Linked DNA regions of Homo sapiens: all the other regions are linked to region 5. The links are contacts of gene promoters, found by promoter capture Hi-C in blood cells and fetal thymus (Javierre and others, 2016). All regions are on one chromosome and are shown on one strand. Each heading gives the region's core, a stretch centred on a gene start or on the middle of the fragment in contact. The rest is flanking DNA. Distances are from core to core; before and after follow the strand shown.

Region 1 (3,362 bases), core at 164-2,663, about 13 Mb after region 5:
AGTGCTTCAATAAACATAGGAGTGTAGATCTCTCTTTGACGTATAGATATATTTGTTTTTGCATATATGCCCAGTAGTGGTATAGATCATTACCAGTGGATCATATGGTAGTTGTATTTTTAACTTTTGTTTATTTTTCATTTTTTAAAATGGGGTCTTGCTGTGTTATTCAGGCTGGTCTCAGACTCCTGGGCTCAAGCAGTCCTGCACCTCAGCCTCCTGAGTAGCTGGGACTACAGGCACACACCACCGTGCCTGGCTATAGTTTTAGATTTTTGAGGAACATTCATACTGTTTTCCATATGGCTATACTAATTAGCATTCCTACCAGCCATATATAAGAGTTCCCCCTTTTCCATGTTCTCAGCAGCATTTTTTATTTTTTATCTTTGGTAATAGCCATCCTAACTGAGGTGAAATTATATCTCATTGTGGTTTTGATTTGCATTTCCCTGATTAGTGATGTTGAGCATTTTTTCATATACTTGGCCATTTGTATGTCTCCTTTTGAGGGATGTCTATTCACCTTATTTACCCATTTTAAAATCAGATTTTTTATTTTTATTTTTTTTGCTATTGAGTTCCTTTTATATTCTGGATATTAATCCCTTTCAGATGAATAGTTTGCAAATATTTTATCCCACTCTACTAGTTGTCTCTTCATTCTGTTGTTTCCTTTGCTGTGCAGAAGTTTTTTAGTTTAATATAATCCCTTTGTTTATTTGTGCTTTTGTTACCTTGATTTTCAGGTATTCATAAAATCCTTGCCCAGACCAATATCCAGAAGCATTTCCCCTATGTTTTCTTCTGTAGTTTCATAGTTTTTGCTCTTACATTTAAGCTTTCAAACCATTTTGAGTTGATTATCCTGAGAGCATAGATTCAAATTGCCCTAAAAATACATTCCCAATTTTTGTTTTTGCTTTTTAATTATTTTTTAGAGACATAGTCTCACCACATTGCCCAGCTTGGTCCTGAACTCCTGGACTCAAGTGAGCCACAACTCAGCCTTCTGAGTAGCTAAGATTACAGGTATGAGCCAGCATACTTGGTGTTTTGAGTTGATTTTTGTGTATGGTGAGAGATGAGTCTACTTTCATTCTTCTGCATATGAATATCCAGTGTCCCAGCACCATTTATTGAAGAGACTGTCCTTTTCCCAGTGAATGTTCTTTGTGCCTTTGTTAGAAATCAGTTGGCTGTAAATGGGATTTATTCCTGGGCTCTCTGTTTTGTTCCATTGGTTTGTGTGGTTTTTAAAAAATACCTGAACCATGCTGTTTTGGTTACCATCACTTTGTAGTATATTTCAAGGTCAGGTAGTGTGATGACTCCCATTTTGTTCTTTTTGCTTAGGATTGCTTTGGATATTCAGTATCTTCTGTGATATCATGAATTTTAGGATTACTATTTCTATTTCTGTGAAAAATGTCATTGGTATTTTGTTAAGAGTGCATTGAATCTGTAGATCACTTGAGGTAGTATGTTCATTTTTTTTCATAAGCTATCTCTTACAGGAAAGTATGTTCATTTTTATAGTAACCATTCTAATCCATGACCATGGGATGTTTTTCCTTTTTTATGTGTGTCCTCTTTGATTTACTTCATCAGTGTTATATAGTTTTCCATGTATTCTTATTTTATTTTTGTTGAAGTATTGTAAATGGGATGGCTTTCTTGATTTCTTTTTCAGCTAATTCATTGTTGGTGTATAGAAATGCTGCTGATTTTTGCATGTTGATTTTATATCCTGCAAGTTCAGTGAATTTATCAGTCCTAAGATTTTTTTGGTGCCACTTTTGGAGTTTAGGGTTTTCTATATATTTGATCCTGTCATGTGCATACAGGGATAATTTGACTTCATGCTTCCTGATCTGCATGCCCTTTATTTCTTTGTCTTGCCTGATTACTCTGTCTCAGACCTTTTGTACTTTGTTAAAAGGTGTGAAAGTGGGCATACTTGTTTTGTTTCAGATTATAGAGAGAAAGCTTTCAGCACTTTCCCATTATGCATGATGTTAGCTGTGGGTATGTTACTTATTACCTTTATTATGTTGAGGTACGTTCTTTCTATTATTATTATAATTTTTTTTAATTTTTTTTTTGAGATGGAGTCTCGCTCTGTCGCCCAGCTGGAGTGCAGTGGCATGATCTCAGCTCACTGCAAGCTCCGCCTTCTGGGTTCACACCATTCTCCTGCCTCAGCCTCCCAAGTAGCTGGAACTACAGGTGCCCACCACCATGCCTGGCTAATTTTTTGTATTTTTAGTAGAGATGGGTTTTCACCATGTTAGCCAGGATGATCTTGATCTCCTGACCTCGTGATCCGCCCGCCTCGGCCTCCCAAAGTGCTGGGATTACAGGTGTAAGCCACCGCGGCCGGCCCATTCTTTCTATTATTATGTGTAATTTGTTAAGAGTTTTCATCATGAGGGGATATTGAATGTTACCAGAGGCTTTTTCTCCACCTATGGAGATAATCACATTTTTTGTTCTTCATTCTGTTGATTTATCATGTTTATTGTTTTGTGTATGTTGAACCCATTCTTGCATCCCTAGAATGAATTCCACTTGGTCATGGTAAACAATCTTTTTGATGTACTTTTGGATTTGGTTGGCTAGTATTTTGTTGAGGAGTTTTGCATTTATGTTCATCAGGAATATTGGCCTGTAGTTTTCTTTTGCATGTGTGTGTCCTTATCTGGTGCTTGTGTCATGGTAATGCTGGCTTGTGGAGTGAGTTTAGAATAATTCCCTCCTCTTCATTATTCTGGGAAAGTTTGAGAAGAATTCATATTTAATTCCCCTAAAATGTTTGGTAGAATTCAGCAGTGAAGCCATGAGATCATGGACTTTCCTTTGATGGGTGACTTTTTATTACTGCTTAAATCTTGTTACTCAGAATTGGTCAATTGAAATTTTCTGTTTCTTCTAGGTTCAATCCTGATGGGTTGTATGTGTCTAGGAATTTATTTTCTGTAGGTTTTCCAACTTTTTGGTTTGTAGTTGTTCATAATAGTCTCTAATGACTCTGTATTTTTGTGGTATCAGTTGCAGTGTCATTTTTGTATGTGTTTGATTTTGAGTCTTTTCTCTTGGTTAGTCTAATGGTTTCTTTTCAAAAAATGAACTTTTCATTTTGTTGATCCTTTGAATTTTTTTTTAAGTCTCAGTTTTATTTATTACTCTTCTGATCTTTATTAATTCTTTCCTTGTAATTTTGGGTCTGATGTGTTCTTTTCTAGTTCCTTGAGAAGCATTGTTAGATTTTTCTTTTTTCTTTTTTTCTTTTTTTAAGAGACAGGGTCTTACTGTGTTACGTAGGCTGGAGTGTAATGGTACAATCAACTCAAACTCCTGGG
Region 2 (3,645 bases), core at 1,105-3,604, about 14 Mb after region 5:
TATCTTCTTCTTTTTTTTTTTTTTTTTTGAGACAGAGTCTTGCTCTGTCACCCAGGTTGGAGTGCAGTGATGCAATTTCAGCTCACTGTAAACTCTGCCTCCTGGGTTCAAGTGGTTCTTCTGCCTCAGCCTCCTGAGTAGCTGGGATTACAGGTATGTGCTACCATGCCTGGCTAATTTTTGTATTTTTAGTAGAGACGGGGTTTCACCATGTTGACCAGGCTGGTCTCAAACTCTTGACCTCAGGTGATTCGCCCACCTTGGCCTCCCAAAGTGCTAGGATTACAGGTGTGAGCCACCGCACCCAGCCTTTTTTTTTTCTTTGTTTTTTGAGACAGAATCTCACTCCTAACCATGCTGCTAATATTTACATGGTCCTGCACCAGTGTGTTCATGTAATTTCACATAACTTTTTTCTTTAATTAGGGTTGAGTTTCCTATATAGGCCTTCTAAGCAGCCAGAGATCACACACTTAAATGAGCACCTATTAGCTTCCAGGCATATTATGTTTTCTTTTATAAATAAAAGCCTCAAAATGCACACATGCATACACACACACACGATTACTGACCAAAAGGTATTTCAGTATAAAAGCTAGAGTAGAAGCTCCATAAGGACGGTGACTTTTCCCTGTTTAGGCAGCTTACTAAAAAACCCCATATACTCAGCCGGGCGCAGTGGTTCACGCCTGTAATCCCAGCAATTTGGGAGGCCGAGGTGGGCTGCTCACGAGGTCAGGAGATTGAGACCATCCTGGCTAACACGGTGAAACCCTGTCTCTACCAAGAAAATACAAAAAAATTAGCCGGGCATGGTGGCGGGCGCCTGTAGTCCCAGCTACTAGGGAGGCTGAGGCAGGAGAATGGTGTGAACCCGGGAGGCAGAGCTTGCAGAGAGCCAAGATCACGCAACTGCACTCCAGCCTGGGCGACAGAGCAAGACTCCATCTCAAAACAAACAAACAAACAAACAAACAAACAAACCATATACTCTTCTGTGCTGTTTGGCTTCCCCCCACATTATGAACTTTAAAAATCTTGCAATAAAATAACAATTATGGCTGACACAGGCTATAAGAAAGAAGGCAGGTAACAATGATTATTCAGCAAGGTAGGAAGGACTACAATGGCACACAGACTTGCCATTTTGTACTGCATCGGATATGTCAATGTTAATTGTCATCTCAGCAACAAGATTTTTTCCTTGAGAGTTGTATTTCTCCTCAAATGGACTCTCACTAGTCATTCAATTCCTCCTTCTGATATTACTCTTATTTCATTGATTCCAAGATAACAGATGGTAACATGTACATTTTATGTGCTAATAAAAGGCTGCCTGAGGCCTAGCACAGTGCCTCACACCTGTAATCTCAGCACTTTGGGAGGCCGAGGTGGGTGGACCACCTGAGGTCAGGAGTTCAAGACCAGCCTGGCAAAACCTCGTCTCTACTACAATACAGAAATTAGCTGGGTGTGGTGGTGTGCACCTCTAATCTCAGCTACTTGGGAGGCCGAGGCAGCAGAATCGCTTGAACCTGGCAGGTGGAGGCTACAGTGAGCCAAGATAGCACCACTGTACTCCAGCCTGGGTGACACAGCGAGACTCTCTCTAAAAAAAAATAAAAAAATAAAAAAAGGCTGCCAATTAAACCATATCACTGATTAACCTGGTTTGTTTTCAGATGTTAAAATATGGCAAGATATGTATCACAGAATAAAGGAAATACGGTAAGTCTTTAGGTTCTGTGTCACGACTAACTTCCAGATATAGGCATTACCTTGTTTTCTTGCACTTTGCTTAATTATCCTATGCAGATATTGCATTTTTTACAAGTTGAAGGTTTGTGGCAACCTGTGTCAATTAAGTCTATTGTCACCATTTATCAAACAGCATATGCTCTCTGTGTCTCTGTGTCACATTTTGGTAATTCTCACAATACTTCAAACTATTGCATTATTATTATCTGTTATGGTGATCTGTGATCAGTAATTTTTGTTGTAACTATTGTAATTGTTCTGGAGTGAAAGGAACCACGCCTATATAAGACAATGAACTCAGCAGATAAATGTTGTGTGTCCTGATTCCTCCACCAACCTGCCATTGCTCGCTGGTACGCACTCTCTCTCAATCTCTTTCCTCAGGCCTCCCTATTCCCTGAGACAAAACAATATTGAACTTAGGCCAGTTAATAACCCTACAATGGCCACTAAGTGTTCAAGTGAAAGGCAGAGTCAGACCTCTAACTTCAAATCAAAAGCTAGAAATGATTAAGCTTAGTAAGGAAGGCGTGTCAAAGACAGGCCAAAACTTAGCCCTCTTGTGCCAAACAGCCAAATTGTGATGGCCAAGAGAAAAACTTGAGGGAAATGAAAAGTGTGACTCCAGTGAATATGTGAATGACAAGAAACTGAAACAGCCTTGTCGCCAATAGGGAGAAAGCTTTAATGGTCTGGATAGGAGATCAAACTACCCAAAGAGAACTAACATTCTCTTAAGCCAAAGCCTAATCCAGAGCAAGGTCCTGACTCTCTTCATTTCTATGAAGGCTGTGAGAGGCGAGGAAGATGCAGAAGAAAATTCTGAGCCGGCCAGGCACAGTGGCTCATGCCTGTAATCCCAACACTTTGGGAGGCCAAGCGGGATGGATCACCTGAGGTCAGCAGTTCAAGACCAGCTTAGCCAACATGGTGAAACCCCACCTCTACTAAAAATACAAAAATTAGCTGGGCATGGTGGCGTGCGCCTGTAGTCCCAGCTACTCAGGAGTCTGAGGCAGGAGAATTGCTTGAACCTGGGAGGCGAAGGTTGCAGTGAGCTGAGATCGTGCCACTGCACTCCAGCCTGGGCAACAGAGTGAGGCTGTCTCAAAAACAAAACAAAACAAAACAAAACAAAAAAAAAGTCTGGGCCGGGTGTGGTGGCTCATGCCTGTAATACCAGCACTTTGGGAGGCAGAGATGGGCAGATCACCTGAGGTCAGGAGTTTGAGAACAGCTTGGTCAACGTGGCGAAACCCCATCTCTGCTAAAAATACAAAAAAAATTAGCCAGGCATGGTGGCAAGTGCCTGTAATCCCTGCTACTCAAGAGGCTGAGGCATGAGAATTGCTTGAACCCAGGTGGCAGAGGTTGGCAGTGAGCCGAGATCATGCCACTGCACACTAGCCTAGGCAAAAGAGTGAGACTCCATCTCAATAAAATAAAATAAAATAAAATAAAATAAAATAAAATAAAATAAAAAAGTCTGAAGCTAGCAGAGGTTGGTTCATGAAGTTTAAGTCATCTCCGTAACATAAAAGTGCAAGGTGAAGCAGCAAGTGCTAATGCAGAAGCTGCAGCAAGTTCTCCAGATTTAGCTAAGATCACTGAGGAAGGTCGCTACAGTAGACAACAGTTTAAATGTAAAGAAAACAGCCTTCTGTTGGAAGAAATGCCAGGTAGTGTTTTCACAACTAGAAAGAAGTCAGTGCCTAGCTTCAAAGCTTTAAAGAACAGGCCGACTCTTGTTAAGGGCTAATGCAACTGGTGACTTTAAGTTGAAACCAAAGCTCATTTACCATTCTGAAAACCCTAGGGCCTTAAGATTTAAGTTAAATCTACTCTGAGTGCTGTCTATAAATGTAAACAAAGCCTGGATGACAGTAC
Region 3 (3,801 bases), core at 1,258-3,757, about 13 Mb after region 5:
GAATGGCTCTGAGAAATTGGGTGTTTTTTCTGGAGGTGATGAGAACAATGGGAGGTTTAGAGAAGAGAACGGAGGTTATCTGACACTGGTCTCATCAGGTTCACTGTTAATGCAGCATAGAGAATACTCTGTGGGTGTGATGGAGGCGATAGAAAGACCAGGGAGGAGGCTACTGCAGTGGCCAAGGTGAGTTTTGATAGTGGCTTCACCAGTGTGGTGGCTGTGAAGGTAGAAGAAGTGGCTGGATTCTGGGTCAGAATTTTAATTAGGCCTGCTTGCATTTTCAGATTTTGAGGGTAAGAGATACTGGTCAAGCATTACTCCAGGCATTTTGAATTTAGCATCTGGAAGGATGGAATCTCCATCAAATAGCATGTTATAGGATTGATTTTATTTTTATTTTATTTATTTATTTGTCTATTTTTAGACAGTCTCACTCTGTCACTCAGGCTGGAGTGCAGTGGCTCGATCTTGGCTCTTTGCAACCTCCACCTCCCGGGTTCAAGCAATCCTCCTGCCTCAGCCTCCTGAGTAGTTGGGACTACAGGCACATGCTACCGTGCTACCATGCCCAGCGAATTTTTTTTTTTTTTTTTTTTTGTATCTTTAGTAGAGACAGGGTTTCACCATGTTGGCCAGGCTGGTCTCAAACTCCTGACCTCAGGTGATCCACCTGTCTTGGCCTCCCAAAGTGCTGGGATTACAGGCGTGAGCCACCATGCCCAGCCAATTAATTTTCATTAAGGATAACAGGAGTTTTGTCTTTAGCTATTATCATAGTCTGAGATATTCCAAAGAATGATATATGGAGACATCAGGTGAGTAGCTGTCCATGTACATCTAGAATTCTGGAAGTGGTTTAAGATGGAGAAATCCAAAAGGTGGTGGCCAGTGTTTGGCCCAGAGTAGCTATGGGTCACAATTAGGAGTGGGTAATCCTGGTCTTGAAGATAATGCTATTTATAATGCAGGAAAGGGCTGGGTGTGGTGGCTCACACCTGTAATCCCAGCACTTTGGGCGGCCGAGGCAGGCGGATCACTTGAGGTCAGGAGTTCTAGACCAGCTTGGCCAACATGGTGAAACTCCGTCTCCACTAAAAATACAAAAATTAGCCAGGCGTGGTGGCAGGCACCTGTAATCCCAGCTACTAGGGAGGCTGAGGCAGGAGAATTGCTTGAGCCCAGGAGGCGGAGGTTGCAGTGAGCCAAGATCACGCCACTGCACTCCAGCCTGGGTGACAGAGTGAGACTCCATCTCAAAAACAAAACAAAAAAACAGAAAAGGGAAGGTTGGGGCTATGACTGTGTCTCATGCTTGGACACGTGGTAGAGGTGGTGAGCATCACAAACAGTTGTGAGAGAAAAGTGGTCATGGGAAGATTGTAGGAAAGAGGATGATCTGGTGTATCAGTCCATTTTCACACTGCTGATAAAGACAGCAAGTCTCTAGGAAGTTCCAGACTTTCCCATATTTTCCTGTCTTCTTCTGAGCCCTCCAAACTGTTCCAACCTCTGCCTGTTCCCCAATTCCAAAATTGCTTCCACATTTTCAGTTATCTTTACAGCACAGCCCCACTTTACTCATACTGATTTACTGTATTAGTCCATTTTCATGCTGCTGATAAAGATGTGCTGGAGACTAGATAATTTGTAAGGAAAAAGAGGTTTAATGGACTCATGATTCCGCGTGGCTGGGGAGGCCTCACAATCATGGTGGAGGGTGAAAGGCATGTCTTGCATGGCAGCAGACAAGAGAGAACTTGTTCAGGGGAACTCCCCCCTTATAAAACCATCAAATCTTGTGAGACTTATTTACTATCATGAGAACAGCATGGGAAAGGCCTGCCCCTATGGTTCGATTACCTCTCACCAGGTCCCTCCCATGACATGGGAATTGTGGGAACTACAATTCAAGAAGAGATTTGGGTGGGGACGCAGCCAAATCATATCATCTGATAAGTGGTCAAGGCTTCCAAGGCATTAGGGACATAAGACAGACATGGAGATAAAGAAATAATTGGTAGAAGATGACACTGAGGCCAGGTACAGTGGACTGTGTCCCCGCAAAATTCATATGCTTAAAGCCTAATTCCAGTGTGATGGTATTTGGAGGTTGGGCCTTTGGGAGATAATTAGGTCATGAGGGTGGAGCCCTAATGAATGGGATTAGTGAGTGCTCTTAAACAAAGAGGCCAGAGAGCTACTATCTAGTGCTCTTTCCAACAAGTGAGGATACAAGAAGTCAGCAGTCTGCAACCTGGAAAGAGTCCCTACCAGAACCTGACCATGCTGGCACTCTGATCTCAGGCTTCCTGCCTGCAGATCTGTGAGAAATAAATTTCTGTTGTTGATAAGCCACCCAGTTTGTGGTATTATGCTAGCAGGCCAAACTGACTAAAACACTAGGACTAGTGCTTATTCACCATGGTAAAAACTCGCCAGGAATTTGTTGTGACCCTTGGTGAGTCTGGGGAGGGTGTGAGTCAAGCAGTTGAATAAGTTTAGGAGTACAAGTGTTCATCTGTATGAGTCATTAGGTTGGAGGTAGAGAGCCACTGAGAGTCTGTGCCACTGAGGCCACTGATTTTGAATGAGGGTTAAGAGGTGAGAAGAAGGTTGTTGATTGAAGAGGGGACATCAAGTGCAGCACAAGTGGAGGACGGCCATCGGTGTCTGACATCAGGTGATTCTTGGTGGCTGAGGTTGAAGCAAGGAACAGAGTCAGGAAGATAGCCCTTCAGAGCAGGGTGGGGGCTGTCTATGACAGTAGGAACCATCAGAGGTCTGTGTAGCACTGGATGATGTCTCAATTTGGCAGGCAGAGGGGTGGAGGTAGCCGTGGGAGTGAGACTGAGCGAGTATGGTTCAAAGAATGATGTGTACATGGAGAGGGAGTGTGAACTGAAGGACCCAGGCCCCTGGCATTGAGGACTTAAGGGTCAAAGGTGAAGCCACATTTGATTGTGTCTAGGAGGCACTATCTGAAAGACCCTTGGGGAACTGCCTGACAAGAAGGGATACACTCCTACATACCGGGCCCAAAGTTTAGATGTGGTGCATCCTGCCCACCTCCTGGTTGGTGCTGTAGAAGGATACAGTGATCATTGGGACCATGAAAAGAGAGTGGGCATCTGTGTCACCAGGGCCTGTATTTCCTTAAGGTGGGGATGATTGCGTGGGTGGATGAACTTGTGGAGGCGTTGATTGTGGAGTGACCTGTCCCCATCATGACAGGGCTGTGTGACCTTTGAGGACATCGCCATTTACTTCTCACAGGACGAGTGGGGACTTCTTGATGAGGCTCAGAGACTCCTGTACCTTGAAGTGATGCTGGAGAACTTTGCCCTTGTAGCCTCACTGGGTAAGGCCCTAATACCAACTCCAGTGTCCTGGTCTGTCTATGGTCTTTTGCTGACTTCTCCACTTTCTTGGGATATGTGCTATGGGATCCAGCACTGTGCACTGCCTGAGTAGCCCTAACACCTGCTGCCCAGTGGTCTGGGAACACCTGCTGCCCAGTGGTCTGGGAACACCTGCCACTGGGCAGCAGGTGTTCTTCAGTCAGCCAAATGGATCTCTGTTCCTTGCTCTCTTCTTGGCTGGGTGTCTGTGTTCAGATCCATGACACCTTGTGTCCCAAGTTCCCTGCACCCCCATCTGCTAGCTGACATTTTCTTGTGGCTACCTGTGTCATGATTGTAGTCATTGTCATTGTCTATACTTATGGGGACAATGGGCTCTTCTTACTCACTCCTTCTAGTTTGTTTGTTTGTTTGTTTGTTTAATGATATTAACTTTCTT
Region 4 (3,577 bases), core at 755-3,254, about 13 Mb after region 5:
AGATATGTGCAGGTGGTAAAATATTTGATTTACCTTAGGTGCATGTTTCCAGGTGAGGTTGAACAAGGCCACAACCTCACTTCCTATTTTGGTTCCTACAGTGTAAATAAGTGTCCTTTTCACAGTCTATTTAGTGGCACATTTTTTTTTTTGCTTTTTATTGATAACTTTGTTGTTTAAAGTGACACTGAAGTAAAATGCTGAAACACTGTCTAGTCTTCCTAAGTGCAGGAAAGTTGCTATGTATTATGGAGATAATACATGTGTTGGATCCTCTGAGTTCAGGATTAATCAATAATATATATTAAATGGGGTGTCTTTGAACATATACACACATAAAACAAACTCATGTATTGATCAGTTGACAAAAATAATGTAGCCAGAAGCTCACAGGAAACTAACCCTGAATTTTTCCTAGGGGAAATGATTCAGTACTTGTAAATTCAATGTCCATGTGACTTTATTAAACATAAGAGCTTGTAGTAACAAGAATAACACCATCAGAGATGGTGGACAAAATATGTGATAGCCAATACTTGAGGGAGCTTGTGAGAGCCTGTTAAGGACCACTTTTCCAAAAAGTCTTCTGTTACACAACAGATTCAGATACAACAGTGATCTGGCTTTCTTTACAGGTCCACGTCCACATGCAGGGACAGGAAGCTCTCTTTTCTGAGGATATGCCCTTAAGAGATGTCATTGTTCATCTCACAAAACAAGTGAATGCCCAAACCACAAGAGAAGCAAACATGGGGACACCCTCCCAGACTTCCCAAGATACTTCCTTAGAAACAGGACAAGGTAAGTCAGGTGAATCTGCACAACTGAGGAGTGTTCTATGTGGACCCCTTCTTAAGTACAACTTCATTGAGTGTCTATTTTCACAGGATATGAAGATGAACAAGATGGCTGGAACAGTTCTTCGAAAACTACTCGAGTAAATGAAAATATTACTAATCAAGGCAATCAAATAGTTTCCCTAATCATCATCCAGGAAGAGAACGGTCCTAGGCCTGAAGAGGGAGGTGTTTCTTCTGACAACCCATACAACTCAAAAAGAGCAGAGCTAGTCACTGCTAGATCTCAGGAAGGGTCCATAAATGGAATCACTTTCCAAGGTGTCCCTATGGTGATGGGAGCAGGGTGTATCTCTCAACCAGAGCAGTCCTCCCCTGAGTCTGCCCTTACCCACCAGAGCAATGAGGGAAATTCCACATGTGAGGTACATCAGAAAGGATCCCATGGAGTCCAAAAATCATACAAATGTGAAGAATGCCCCAAGGTCTTTAAGTATCTCTGTCACTTATTAGCTCACCAGAGAAGACACAGGAATGAGAGGCCATTTGTTTGTCCCGAGTGTCAAAAAGGCTTCTTCCAGATATCAGACCTACGGGTGCATCAGATAATTCACACAGGAAAGAAGCCTTTCACATGCAGCATGTGTAAAAAGTCCTTCAGCCACAAAACCAACCTGCGGTCTCATGAGAGAATCCACACAGGAGAAAAGCCTTATACATGTCCCTTTTGTAAGACAAGCTACCGCCAGTCATCCACATACCACCGCCATATGAGGACTCATGAGAAAATTACCCTGCCAAGTGTTCCCTCCACACCAGAAGCTTCCTAAGCTGCTGGTCTGATAATGTGTATAAATATGTATGCAAGTATGTATATTCCTATAGTATTTATCTACTTAGGATATAAGATATAATCTCCTGATTATGCTTTCAATTTATTGTCTTGCTTCATTAAAATGTAAGGCTAAGGAGAGCATGGAATTTGTCAGTTTTGTTCACTAAAGTATTCCAAGTGGTTGGGAAAGTGGAACATTTCCAAGAACCAATAAATTTCTGTTGAATAAATGAATGAATCCATAATGTTGATATCCTTTTTTAAAAAAAGAGATGGGGCCGGCCGCAGTGGTTCGGCCTCCCAAAGTGCTGGGATTACAAGCGTGAGTGACCGTGCCCGGCTTTTTTTTTTTTTTCTGAGTCAGAGTCTTGATCTGTCGCTCAGACTGGAGTGCCGTGGTGTGATCTTGGCTCACTGCAACCTCCACTTGGAGGTCCAAAATTAATCATAGACACCAAACCACAGATCCAGAAATCTCAGAGAAGAGGAAGCAGTGTAAATACCAAAAACCTACAACTAGGTACATCATATTCAAACTACAGAAGGCCAAAGATAGAGAAATTCTTGAAAGAAGATGGAGGTGGGAGAGGGCACTTTACCTGCTGAGGAACAAGGATGAGATTTAGAGTAGAATTCTTGTCAGAAACCAGATAATCAAGAAGGGAATGGAGTGAAAGTTCAAAATTTAGTACAAAAAATAAAACCCCACCCTAACATCTATATCCAGCAATGTTATCTTTCAAAGGTGGAGGAGAATAAAGCTTTTCTCACACAAATACTAAAGAATTCATCCCCAAAGGTCCTGTTACAGGGTCCCTGCATTACATGTGAAGCAATCCAGTAGTTATTTGAAGGTCGAATTAGATTAAAGATGTTTAGGCTGGGCACAGTGTCTCATGCCTGTAATCCCAGCACTTTGTCAGGCTGAGGCGGGCAGATCACTTGAGTCCAGGAGTTTGAGACCAGCCTGAGCACCAAGGCAAAACCTCATCTGTACAAAAAATACAAAAAAACAATTAGCTAGGTTTGGCGACATGCGCCTGTAATCCCAGCTATTTGGGAGGCTGAGATGAGAGGATCACTTGAACCTGGGAGGCAGAGGTTGCAGTGAGCTGAGAACAGACCACCGCACTCCAGCCTGGGTGACAGGCTCAAAAAAATTTTAAAAAGATGTTTATTGTAACTTCTAAGGGAGGAATTAATATTTTTTTTTTTTTTTGCTGGCAACTTTGATTAATTTAAACATACAAAAATTAGCTGGGCATGGTGGTGTATGCTTGTAACCCCAGCTACTCAGGAGGCTGAGGCAGGAGAATCGCTTGAACCCGGGAGGCAGAGGTTGCAGTGAGCTGAGATCGCGCCACTGCACTCCACCCTGGGAGACAGAGCAAGACACTGTCTCAAGAACAAAAACAAAAAAGCCCAGGCGCAGTGGCTCACCTGAGGTCAGGAGTTCAAGACCAGCCTGGCCAACATGGTAAAACCCTCGCTCTACTGAAAATACAGAAATTAGCCGGGCATGGTGCTGGCGCCTGTAGTGCCAGCCACTTGGGAGGCTGAGGCAGAAGAATTGCTTGAACCTGGGAGGTGGAACTTGTGGTGAGCCAAGATCAAGCCATTGCACTCTAGCCTGGGCAACAGAGTGAGACTCCGTCTGGGAAAAAAAAAAAAAAAAAGAACTGATAAACAAATTCACCTGTGTAGCTGAATTCAAAGTCAACATGCAAAAGTCAACATGTAAAACTCATATGCCCTTCCATACACTAACAATGAAAAATCTGAAAAGGAAATTAAGAAAACAATATCATTTGCAATAGTAATGTATATGGTCAAATGATCTCAACAAGGCTACCAAGACCACTCAATGGGGAAACGATGATCTTTTCAGCAAATGATGCTGGGAAAATGAAATATTCACATGCTAAGGAATGAAGGTGAACCCTTA
Region 5 (3,773 bases), core at 518-3,017:
TGAACCTTCTCTTAAGGGCACTGGATAGACATGCAGGTGAAAATAATCAAATTTCCATCTTAGGAGATATACTTAACCTCTCTCTGCCTCTGGATCCCAAAGAGTAAACTAGAGGACATTATTTGTTTTAAAAAAGTTGTGAAAATGGGCTAAGTGTGGTGGCTCATGCCTGTAATCCTAGCACTTTGGGAGGCCGGGGCGGGTGGATCACCTGAGGTCAGGAATTCAAGACTAGCCTGGCCAAGATGGCAAAACCCCGTCTCTACTAAAAATACAAAAATTAGCTGGGCGTGGTGGGGAGGGGGGTGCCTATAACCCCAGCGACTTGGGAGGCTGAGGCAGGAGACTTGCTTGAACCTTGTGTGAGGGCGGAGGTTGCAATGAGCCGAGGTCATGCCACTTCACTCCAGCCTGGGCAAAAGAGCCAAACTCTGTCTAACAACAACAACAACAACAACAACAACAAAACAGAACAAAAAAAAAAAGAAAAAAGTTGTGAAAATGTAGTGAGGGTCCCATAGTCTGAATAGTTTGAACTAGTTCCTGGCACATACTTGGTTCTTTATAAGAGATAGTTGTATATAACAGAATAAAGAATATATATTTAGTAAATGAGAACTGCAAACATGTACTGTAGTAGATATGTGGATATTTTTAGGTATTGCTCTCTTCTTTCAACCCTCAATTCTTGGAAACATCAATTCCATTATACATTTAAGCAAATAAAGATCAAGGTTTAAACACTGAAGTAATAAATTTGTTCATCTTTCAAATTCAGAAACTCCTTGAGGAATGATTACAGAGGCCCTAGTTGCTTTGTGGAGTTGATCTACCATATGCCAAAGCTTGTGTTTTCTATGTCTAGCTATCCTCAGTAAGCAAGTTGTTCTGAATTATATGACTGTGCTATTAAGAAAAGTGGAAATCCATAATATATTCTGCCTTCGTTGCATTTTTTGATTGCTCTTTCATTCTTTTAGTATCTAAAGAGTAGTTTTTCTATTAGTCGATCCTGTTAAATGTAAAAACTTAAAGGGTTTCCTCTGCCCTTTTTTTTTTTTTTTTTGGAAGTGGTGGGTATAATTCTATTAGTACAGGATCACGTGATCTGTTTCTTATAATAGTTTTTTTTTTCTTTTTTTTTTTTTTGAGACAGAGTCTCACTCTGTCGCCCAGGCTGGAGTGCAGTGGCACGATCTTGGCTCACTGCACCCTCCAGGGTTCAAGCGATTCTTATGCCTCAGCCTCCCAAGTAGCTGGGACTACAGGCGCGCGCCACCACGCCCGGCTAATTTTTATATTTTTAGTAGAGACGGGGCTTCATCATATTGGCCAAGCTGGTCTGGAACTCCTGACCTCGTGATCCGCCCGCCTCGGCCTCCCAAAGTGCTGGGAGTCTTTTTTTATTTTAGGGCTCCAATTCTTCACATATTTGCTGTTACTTTTTGTTAATAAGAAAAACCTAAATTCCACTGACATCAGAGAACTGCTTCAGCCTGGCTAAACAGCAATAAGCCGTGAAGAGGATTCTGGATGTTGTAGTCCGGGAGCTCCGAGAATTTTGTCACACTCTCCGTAACCCTCTCTCACTCGCTCGCTCCGTTTTTTTTTTTGTTTTTTTTTTTTTCAAGCGCGAAGAGGGCGGCACCTGGATGGTTTTTCCTTCTGGAAGTTCTGGGAAACGTATTCCAGAACTCTGTCCGGAAACAATTGGGCCGCAGGAGCGCGGGCCTTCTGGGAAGGGTAGTTCAGGAGCTCTGGGCAGGCAGAGCCACTTCCGCCCCGGAAAGCGAGGCCGCCACCATCTTTTGGGTCCGGGAGGTGAGTCAGCCCTGCACCCCCACGACCCCTCTTGAACCTTTTCAGCCTGTGCTTGGGAATAGGCGCTCCCCAGCCATCAGTCTTGGGATGGAGAGGTCGCGGCCGCGGCGGAGGCCGAGAGGCCGAGGGCGGGAAGTTTGCTCTCCTCCCGCACTTGGCAAGCAGCGCCGCTAGTTCTGTGGGTATAATAAACAGCGAGTTACCTATGATCCGCGCTCCTGTTTCCTCATCTTTAAAATAGCAATAAAGATAGTCGTTACTGTGTAGGGTTGTAATTAGAATTAAACAAGATAATACGGGTCAAACCTTAGAACAGTGGTGGCACCTGATACTGGGTTGGCTCCTGCTATTGATACAGTGATTCCCTCACAAGCGCCCTTTTTACTGGAAGCTCCAGTGAAGAGAGAAGAAAAGTCAGGGCTTTATGCCATGGCCTTTCTGTCGTATCCTTCAGGAGACCGAGCTCTTCCCGAACTTTTACAGATCTTTTTTTTTTTTAAGAAGGATTGAGTCATCGGGCTCCAATGCGTGGGGATGTTTACCGCCGTTTATCCGGGATAGAGACTCCATCGTGCTGACAGCATCCTTTTATTCACCGCCTCCGAATTTGCAAAGAGGAGGAAGGAGGGACTTCTTGGCTTCTCCCAGCATAGCCCCAGGTACCTGCTCTTGAACGCACTTTGTTGTTCCATTTTCTGTCCTTTCAGTTAATCAAGTTTCCGTCACTCAGTAAGTTACTACTGAAAAATGATGAAATATTTGTTGAATAAATGTGAGAGTGGGTAGGAAAACTACTTGGAAATGAGTATTACCAATAACATCTTACCACTTTGATTTTAAGGCATTCGTCTGTGGACCATAGCTATTGATGAAGTAGGTCTTGTTATTTTGTTATGAGGAAATTAGGCAGAGTTTATGTTATTAAATACTTTCCCGAAGTTATTCAACTGATAGTAAGAGGTGGATTTGGGATTGAACCCAAGCATTCCTTTTCAGACTGTGTGATCTTTTTTGTTTGTTTTTGTTTCTTTGGTTTTTGTTGTTGTTTATTTTCTATTCCTTTTTCTGAGTCTGTGGTCTTAATCTCAATGATACAGTCGTCTTCAGTTATCTTAAATAGTAATCCATATGGCTACCGGTGAGTCGTTGGAAATCAGCCTTGGGAATGTAGGTATGGATTTTACTGTGGAAGACCTCAAAAACTGCACTGATGAATTTTGAATTTTTTAGAAAAATCCTGCAACATCTCACTTACTTAATTTCATTCCATGTCAAAATATGTCATATTCTAGTTATAGAAGTAATGAATGCTCATTATAGAGATGCACTATCCAATCCAGTAGCTATAAGCCATGTGTGCCCTAGGAGCACTTGAAATGTGTCTAGTCCAAATTGAGATGTGCTGTAAGTGTTAAATACACACTGGATTTCAAAAACTTTGTACAAAAAATGTAAGATGGCTCATTGATAATTTTTTGTATTATATGTCAAAATGGTAATATTTTGGATACATTGGCTTAAATTATGTTGTTGAAATTAACTTCACCTATTTTTGTTTTTGTTTTTTTGCCTTTTTTATATGTTACTGCTAGAAAATTTAAAATTATTTATGTGTCTCAGTATATTTCTATTGGACAGTGATGTTATATTCAGAAAACTTAAATTACTTATAATAAAACTGCTAACACTTTAATGTGTTTCCCTTTAGTATATGCTATGGATGTTTCTCAAAATAGGTTTGGTATTCTGTGTAGTAGTTTTTTTCTTATTATGAAAATTTTCTTTTTTCTTTTTTTTTCTTTTTTTTTGTGAGATGGAGATTCACTCTTGTTGCCCAGGCTGGAGTGCAGTGGCGTGATCTCAGCTCACTGCAACCTCCACCTCCCAGGTTCAAGTGATTCTCCTGCATCAAGCTCCCGAGTAACTGGGTTACAGGTGTGCGCCATCACTCC
Region 6 (3,795 bases), core at 576-3,075, about 13 Mb after region 5:
CTCGTACAGAAGAATATAAGCCATTTTTCTTCAGTCTCAGGGTTAAAAGTCTCAGTGTCTCAGGATGCACTCAAGAGGAGTGCAGACTGAAGATGGTTTGTTACCTGTTTTAAAAAGAGTAGGAGAAAAGGCGTCCCTTGGTCTTTTTCCTTTTTTTGGTGTGACCCAGGGTGGAGGGAAAGATCGAAAGTGCATCCCACTTCTCTTTCTTCCCATACTCTGGGTCCTGGCCACCATCATAGGTGTCACCCATGGATGCAAGCATGACCTTCACCCGTGGATCTGGAAGAGCTAGTTGGGTGTAATAGTCATGCTTACCTGTATGAGGACCTGACTCTCCACGCTGCTGGTTTCCTAGTCCCAAGTGGCCCATAAGGCTCCCAGGGTACCCTAGTGGTCTGGGAGATATTGTATTTGGGTGAGACCCTTTAATGGAGGGAGTGTTTTAATACTATCTCTGGCTTCCCTTGCTATGGCCCTAGCAAAACATTGAAATCCCAGAGAATGGGACCGATTGACTTCCAAATATGAAATCTTCTTTTTATTTAAATGCCAGTGTAGTTCAATGCAGAACAGGTGACTCAAAAGAACATAAGGATTGAGTGGCTGTTCTCCCGACTGTTAAAGGTACAGCTTTGCTGTTAACAGATGGAGCATGGAGCTTAGTCCCTAACAGAGGCACACAGGAGGGAGAGGAATTGGGGAACTAATGGTTTTGCACAAAGGGCAGATAGGGCTCCTTATGGAGAAAAAATCCTATTTCACTTGGTGGCGCTGTAGGATCTGAAATGTTAAATAAGAACTCTGACTCCAAATTCTTTCCAGGAAGAAGTTAGAAAGAGAGGTTTGGGCTTAATAGGCTGTCCCCATTGTATGCCTTCCAGAAGAAGAAAATTAACTTGTCTCATAATGGAACTGTCTAGATTCATTGGGCAGTCCTGAGCTTTTACATGGAGGAAAAACACAACCCAAATGGAGAGGGAGAAGGGTATTCACTCAGCATGAAATATCCCCTCTATACAGTGCCATGAATGTCTGTCATTAGGGACAAAAAGCTCTCACTAGGTGAAAGTTTAGACAGAAATCCTCTAATTGTTCTAATTAGATCAAACCTCTATAGTAAACAGTTCAAAAATTATAGTGTCAGGGAATCATCTTCATGGTTGCTGGACTTGTCATCAACATCCCCAGGATCTAGAGTTCCATCTTCTGGCCTATCTGGAAAACCTCACAGACATCTACCCAGTACTTCTAACTAACCATAGCAATCCCAAAGTACCAAAACCCCTACTTATTCAGTGGAACTCTCCTTCACTTAATGGATTCCACCTGAATGTCCCCTTCCACACTTGCCATTATACCTGGACTTGAAAAGTTGAGTATATCTCCAGTGCATTAATGATTCTTTTGCACTCACTACTATGTTAATGACACAAAAGCAGACGTTTCCCTGTGATGCTCTGATCTAACTATAGTTACCAAGTTTCCAAGGCAACAGCAAGGTAAATGGTATTTCACTTGTAGGCAAGAAGACCATATATGATGTCTTCTCCCAGACCAGAACACACGGGAAAAAATGACTGCCTAATCTGGGAGGGTGGGAGTACTATTCGCTTCTGGAAAACAAGGTTTGTTTGACCACCCCCATTGGAACAGGGGAAGAATATCTCTATAGACCCAACTTGGCAGCAAAGGATAGACATTACACCCTGTAGGACCTCTATGCTCCAACTGGACTCATTTTTGTTTGTGGCCATGAATGAGAAGTCACATGCTGTAACTACTCCTGGCTCCCCAGGGAGCCATCTGTTCTTTTAGGAGTAGCTTTCCCTTATATATCAAAAACTTGGAACAAAGATAAATGTATGTTGACCACCCTTGCCCCTCCAAGGGTCACAGTCTATAACCCAATAAGGCCCAGGAACACCAGAAGTCAACAAGCAATAGGATTAATTCTGGTGGGAATCAGGGCAGCCATAGGACAAGCAGCACCCTAGGGTGGCTTTGCCTACCACAAGTCAACCCTAAAGAACTTGACTCAAACTCTAGAATCCTTAGCCACCAACACAGGTTAGGCACTACCAGCAATTCAAGAATCTCTAGACTCTTTGGCAAATGCAGTTCTCAATAACACACTGGCATTAGATTATCTACTAGCGGAACAAGGTAAAGTCTGTGCAGTTAATAAAACCTGCTGCACATATATTAGCAACTCTGGATAGGTTAACATTCAAAAGATCTATAAGCAAGTGACCCTGTTATGTATATTTTCTTTGGCTCTTGCTTGTTTAACCTCTTAGTAAAGTTTGTGTTTTCTAGATCAATAGTCCCCAACCTTTTTGGCATCAGGGACCAGTTTCATGGAAGACAATTTTTCTATGGATGGGGTATGTGGGGCTGGGGCTGGGGGCTGGTCTCAGGATGAAACTCTTCCACCTCAGATCATCAGGTACTAGATTTTCATAAGGAGTGTGCAACCCCAGTCCCTTGCATGCACAGTTTATGATAAGGTTAGCACCCCTATGAGAATCTAATGCTGCCACTGATCTGGCAGGAGGTGGAGCTCAGGCAGTAATGCTCACTCACCTGCCACTCACCTCCTACTGTGCAGCCCAGTTCCTAACAGGACATGGACCAGTATCCACAGGAGAGGGGTTGGGGTATCCTGTTCTAGTTCCAGGTAAAGACAATGCTGGCACAAGGCTTCCAACCCATCCTTGTCTACTATTCCAGAGAATGGAAGTGTCCTTCCTTTGGGGACCTTATATGTGGTATCCAGGGATGTTTACTCCTTTAGTGCTAGGCAGGGCCTAGGCCCACAAAATCAGCAGCAAGCAGTCACAGAGCCCCCTTAAGATTAAAGAGGAGTATCTAATCTCTGATGGGAGAGTGAGATAGGAGGCAGGACTCCATACCAGACTGAAGACTGGCTGAAACAGGGAACAGGCACCAAGAGCATATCTACATAATACACACCCACCAGTGCCATGGCAGTTTACCATCACCATGACAACACCCGGAAATTACCATCCCTTTTCTAGAAATTTCCAAATAACCCACCCTTTGCATGTAGTTAAAAGCGGGTATAAATATGATTGCAGAGCTGCCCCCTGAGCTGATACTCGACACACTGCCTATGGGGTTGCCCTGCTCTGTAGGAGCAGCCACAGAGTTGTAACCCTGCTGCCTCAACAAAGCTATTTTCCATCTACCACTAGCTTGCTCTTGAATTCTTTCCTGAGTGAAGCCAAGAACCTTCTTGGACTAAGCCCCAATTTTGGGGCTCACCTGCCCTACAACGCCACCTGATGTCCTACCTCTGTGCTTTCTAAAACCATCTCCCTTACCACTGGAAGAATATAACTTAGGCCTCAGGAAATGAGGATAATTCATGCTGACATAAGGAGCTCTTTAAAAAATAAAAAAGCAGCTGGGCGCAGTGGCTCATGCGTGTAATCCCAGCACTTTGGGAGGCCGAGGCAGCTGGATCACCTGAGGTCAGGAGTTTGAGACAAGCCTGGCCAACGTGGTGAAACCTCATCTCTACTAAAAATACAAAAATTAGCCGGGTGTGGTGGCACACGCCTATAATCCCAGCTACTCAGGAGACTGAGGCAGGAGAATCGTTTGAACCTGGGAGGTGGAGTTTGTAGTGAGCCAAGATCATGCCACTGCACTCCAGCCTGGGCGAGAGTGAGACTCCATCAAAAAAAAAAAGAGGCAGCATTATATAATAAGATACCTGGGGGATATTGATGGACATGCTACCTTGGAGTCCTGCCTAGCTCAGCCCCT
Region 7 (3,633 bases), core at 732-3,231, about 14 Mb after region 5:
AGATCCTGCGTGATGGTGGAACCGCAGGTTGCTTGGTTTTCCAAGGGTGTAGTTAGAATAGAGACCAGATTGTAGGGGCTTCTGAAGGCCAGGTTAAGGCTCTTGCTTGTATCCTTTATATTGGGAAGAGTAATTGACAGGTCTTTTGTTTGTTTGTTTTTTGTTTTTTGAGATGGAGTCTCCCTCTGTCGCCCAGGCTGGAGTGCAGTGGCGCGATCTTGGCTCACTGCAACCTCCGCCTCCTGGGTTCAAGTGATTCTCCTGCCTCAGCCTCCCCGAGTAGCTGGGACTACAGGCGTGTGCCACCATACCCAGCTAATTTTTTTTTTATTTTTATTTTTTGTGTGTGTTTTTTGTGGAGACGGGGTTTCACCATGTTGGCCAGGCTGGTCTGGAACTCTTGACCTAAGGTGATCCGACCATCTCGGCCTCCCAAAGGTCTATGCAGGGATCAGGCTTATGTTTAGATTTCAGCAGATAAATTGGCATCAAGCAAGAGGTGACAGCAGCAGAGTTCAATAACAAGTAGAAAAGACAGGTGAGGATGGATCCCTGACAGGTGAAGGAGATAGAAAGAAGCATCAGGGCCCTGGGTAGGGGCTGACGGCTTGGGTGTGATGGTGCAGCTCAGAGAATTCCCTAGGAGGCATACGCACCACTCCCAAAGTCAGAATTTTCAAATGAATAAGAAATAGGGGGCCGGGCGCGGTGGCTCACGTCTGTAATCCCAGCACTTTGGGAGGCCGAGGCAGGTGGATCACGAGGTCAGGAGATTGAGACCATCCTGGCTAACATAGTGAAACCCCGTCTCTACTTAAAAAAATACAAAAAATTAGCCGGGCGTGGTGGCGGGCGCCTGTAGTCCCAGCTACTCGGGAGGCTGAGGCAGGAGAATGGCGTGAACCGGGGAGGCGGAGCTTGCAGTGAGCCGAGATGGCGCCACTGCACTCCAGCCTGGGCGACAGAGAGAGACTCCGTCTCAAAAAAAAAAGAAAAGAAAAATAGGGCCGGGTGCGGTGGCTCACATGTGTAATCCCAGCACTTTGGGAGGCCGAGGCAGGCAGATCACAAGGTCAGGAGTTCGAGACCAGCTTGACCAACATGGTGAAACCCCATCTCTACTAAAAATACAAAAATTAGCCGGGCATGGTGGTATGCGCCTGTAATCCCAGCTACTCAGGAGGCTGAGGCAGGAGAATCGCTTGAACCTGGGAGGTGGAGGCTGCAGTGAGCCAAGATTGCGCCACTGCACTCCACTAGGAGACAGAGTGAGACTCTGTCTCAAAACAATAAATAAATAAATTAAATAAATAAATAAATAAATAAAATGGACAGATTTTCATATGCTACAGAGATCTCATGTGTTGCTCTCCTTATTGTAACCTGAATAGAGTCAAGCTTGGGTTTGCTTGGGGTTTCAGACAAAGACAGGAACTCAGGATGAGACTCCCAAAATGCCCTTGGGTCATCTTGTAGACCATTCTGTGCTTTCACTGGCCTGGTCAGCCTCCCCTGTCTTTCTTTTGTCGTGGATGCGGATGGCCTGTGGCTGAACAAGAATCTGGATTTTTAGGAACCAGTGACCTTTGAAGATGTAACACTGGGTTTTACCCCGGAAGAGTGGGGACTGCTGGACCTCAAACAGAAGTCCCTGTACAGGGAAGTGATGCTGGAGAACTACAGGAACCTGGTCTCAGTGGGTAAGGCTGGCCTCCAGGTCAAGAAGGATCTGTGCTTTGTAGCACAAATGTAGCACCTCTGAAGTATGTGTCTGCTTGGGCTCACACTGCAGGGGCACCAGTAGGAAAAGGGCAGCTTTTCAGTATGACTTCTGAATCATTGCCTAGTCCATCCCTCCCTGAATACCAGGGAGATGGGTCTGTCAGGGATGTTTTCAGCTGCAGTAGTGGATGCTTATTGTTCTTGCAACAAGAGTTCCGGCCAGGCATGGTGGCTCACTTTAGGAGACTGAAGCAGGAGGATTGCTTGAGCCCAGGAGTTTGAGACCAGCATGGGCAACATAGACCGTGTCTCTATTAAAAAAAAAAAAAAAAAGAAACTCCACAGAAATTCCAGACAATGCGATGCCAGTGTCCCAACAGCTTAGGAGTAGCATCAAAGAGCCTGTCCCTGCCAGGCACGGTAGCTTACGCCTGTAATCCTGGCACTTTGGGAGGCTGAGGCAGGCAGATCAGTTGAGGTCAGGAGTTCTAGACCAACCTGACCAACATGATGAAACCCTGTCTTTACTAAAAATACAAAAATTAGCCGAGCACCCCAGCTACTCAGGAGGCTGAGCCAGGAGAACTGCTTGAACATGGGAGGTGGAGGAGATTGCAGTGAGCTGAGATCAGATCACAGCACTCCAGCTTGGGCAACTGAGCAAGACTCCGTCTCAAAAAAAAAAAAAAAAAGCCTGTCCCTTCAAACTCTGGTTATTGTGAACCTTTCCATGTTCCCCCTAGTCATTGCACAGCTGTGGCTCCAAGCATTGCATCTGTGTTCAAGGCAGAAACAAGGAGAAGGGGTAGCCCTTTCACAGCTGTCATGTTTAACCAGAAAGCAAAAGCTTTCCCAGCTGACCGATCTCCCTTTGTGTCTGGCTGACCAGAACTGGACCCCTTAGCTGCTTGGCAAAGGAGTCTAGGAAAGCCAACAACAGGGATGGATGGAGTTGTGTTCACTGCTCTAGGCCAGAAGTCATGTGCCTTAGCAGGGGAGAAGCTGGAGACGGCTTGTGCTGCAGTAGGATAGCATTTTCTCCTGAACACAGACCCCCACAAGCCCTGTCTCTTTTCCTTTGAGCAGAACATCAGCTTTCCAAACCAGATGTGGTATCTCAGTTAGAGGAGGCAGAAGATTTCTGGCCAGTGGAGAGAGGAATTCCTCAAGACACCATTCCAGGTGAGAACCAGACATGGGAAGCCCCCACAGGGAAGGGGCCAACTGATGAGTCAGGGACCAGTATCTTGGAAAAGCAGTAGACATTGGGATACCCCAGGTGGGATGCTGTGATGAGCAGTTGCAGAACCAAACTCGAAGTTTTTCTCTGGCTCCACAGTCAGCAGTGTCCTACTTGGTTGAAAGTGAACCTGTTGCTGGTGGCAGGTGATACTTGTGTTGACAGTAGGGGCTCCCTTAGTCTGTTACACGCATTGTCTACTGCCCTCCCCTCATAATCACTGGTAACCCTGGTGTGTATTTCCAGCCAGACTTTCTTATATAGGCTTACGTGAATGTATGTGAATATATATACACATTTTGGGGGTGTTATAATACAGACAAGTCAGCTTCTTTTTGTTTTGGAGACAGGGTCTCTGTCACCGAGGCTGGAGTGCAGTGGCATGATCTCAGCTCACTGCACCCTCCGCGTCCTGGACTCAAGCTGTCCTCCGACCTCAGCCTTCCAGGTAGCTGGATCTATAGGCATGTACCACCATGCCCGTTTAATTGTTTTTTTGTAGAGACAGTGTTTCACCATGTTGCCCAGGCTGGTCTTGAACTCCTGAGCTCAAGTGATCCATCCACCTCAGCCTCCCAGAGTGCTGGGATTCCAGGCATGAGCCACCGTGTCTGTCTGGTCTGCTTTATTTTATTTATTTTTTGAGATGGAATCTCACTCTGTTGCTCAGG

What was found. The method cuts DNA at HindIII sites, captures the fragments that hold promoters and counts their contacts. A CHiCAGO score of 5 or more calls a contact.
Region 1: a contact is called between a fragment that was not itself captured here and the fragment with the promoter of ZNF227 in region 5, in 1 of 17 cell types (activated CD4 T cells). The highest score is 6.8, in activated CD4 T cells.
Region 2: a fragment that was not itself captured here is called in contact with the fragment with the promoter of ZNF227 in region 5 in 1 of 17 cell types (total CD4 T cells); the score reaches 12.0 in total CD4 T cells.
Region 3: a fragment that was not itself captured here is called in contact with the fragment with the promoter of ZNF227 in region 5 in 1 of 17 cell types (non-activated CD4 T cells); the score reaches 7.7 in non-activated CD4 T cells.
Region 4: a fragment that was not itself captured here is called in contact with the fragment with the promoter of ZNF227 in region 5 in 2 of 17 cell types (non-activated CD4 T cells and activated CD4 T cells); the score reaches 7.3 in non-activated CD4 T cells.
Region 6: a fragment that was not itself captured here is called in contact with the fragment with the promoter of ZNF227 in region 5 in 1 of 17 cell types (total CD4 T cells); the score reaches 7.7 in total CD4 T cells.
Region 7: a contact is called between a fragment that was not itself captured here and the fragment with the promoter of ZNF227 in region 5, in 2 of 17 cell types (total CD4 T cells and naive CD8 T cells). The highest score is 14.9, in total CD4 T cells.

The regions. Positions count from the first base shown.
Region 1 is chr19:57,294,031-57,297,392 of GRCh38, forward strand. It overlaps ZNF460 (zinc finger protein 460), which reads left to right. Exons shown (of 3, transcript NM_006635.4): 3 at 1-39. Among named protein-coding and RNA genes, the nearest start is that of ZNF460, 15 kb to the left of the region's middle. The HindIII fragment of the contact is 1,148 bases long and covers 840-1,987 here.
Region 2 is chr19:58,101,510-58,105,154 of GRCh38, forward strand. It overlaps a transcript of ZSCAN18 not described here. Among named protein-coding and RNA genes, the nearest start is that of ZSCAN18, 5.1 kb to the left of the region's middle. The HindIII fragment of the contact is 167 bases long and covers 2,272-2,438 here.
Region 3 is chr19:57,585,305-57,589,105 of GRCh38, forward strand. It overlaps ZIK1 (zinc finger protein interacting with K protein 1), which reads left to right. Exons shown (of 4, transcript NM_001010879.4): 3 at 3,235-3,361. Among named protein-coding and RNA genes, the nearest start is that of ZIK1, 3.1 kb to the left of the region's middle. The HindIII fragment of the contact is 5,417 bases long and covers 1-3,801 here.
Region 4 is chr19:57,677,279-57,680,855 of GRCh38, forward strand. ZSCAN4 (zinc finger and SCAN domain containing 4) reads left to right here. Exons shown (of 5, transcript NM_152677.4): 4 at 636-801; 5 at 888-1,874. The coding sequence ends at 1,627. Among named protein-coding and RNA genes, the nearest start is that of ZNF551, 2.9 kb to the right of the region's middle. The HindIII fragment of the contact is 774 bases long and covers 1,618-2,391 here.
Region 5 is chr19:44,210,765-44,214,537 of GRCh38, forward strand. ZNF227 (zinc finger protein 227) reads left to right here and starts at 1,768. Exons shown (of 6, transcript NM_182490.3): 1 at 1,768-1,821; 2 at 2,326-2,480. The HindIII fragment of the contact is 5,683 bases long and covers 844-3,773 here.
Region 6 is chr19:57,566,312-57,570,106 of GRCh38, forward strand. No RefSeq gene overlaps it. Among named protein-coding and RNA genes, the nearest start is that of ZNF550, 8.3 kb to the left of the region's middle. The HindIII fragment of the contact is 4,639 bases long and covers 1-3,795 here.
Region 7 is chr19:58,184,139-58,187,771 of GRCh38, forward strand. It overlaps ZNF274 (zinc finger protein 274), which reads left to right. Exons shown (of 8, transcript NM_133502.3): 3 at 1,574-1,700; 4 at 2,809-2,904. Among named protein-coding and RNA genes, the nearest start is that of ZNF274, 2.9 kb to the left of the region's middle. The HindIII fragment of the contact is 1,171 bases long and covers 1,397-2,567 here.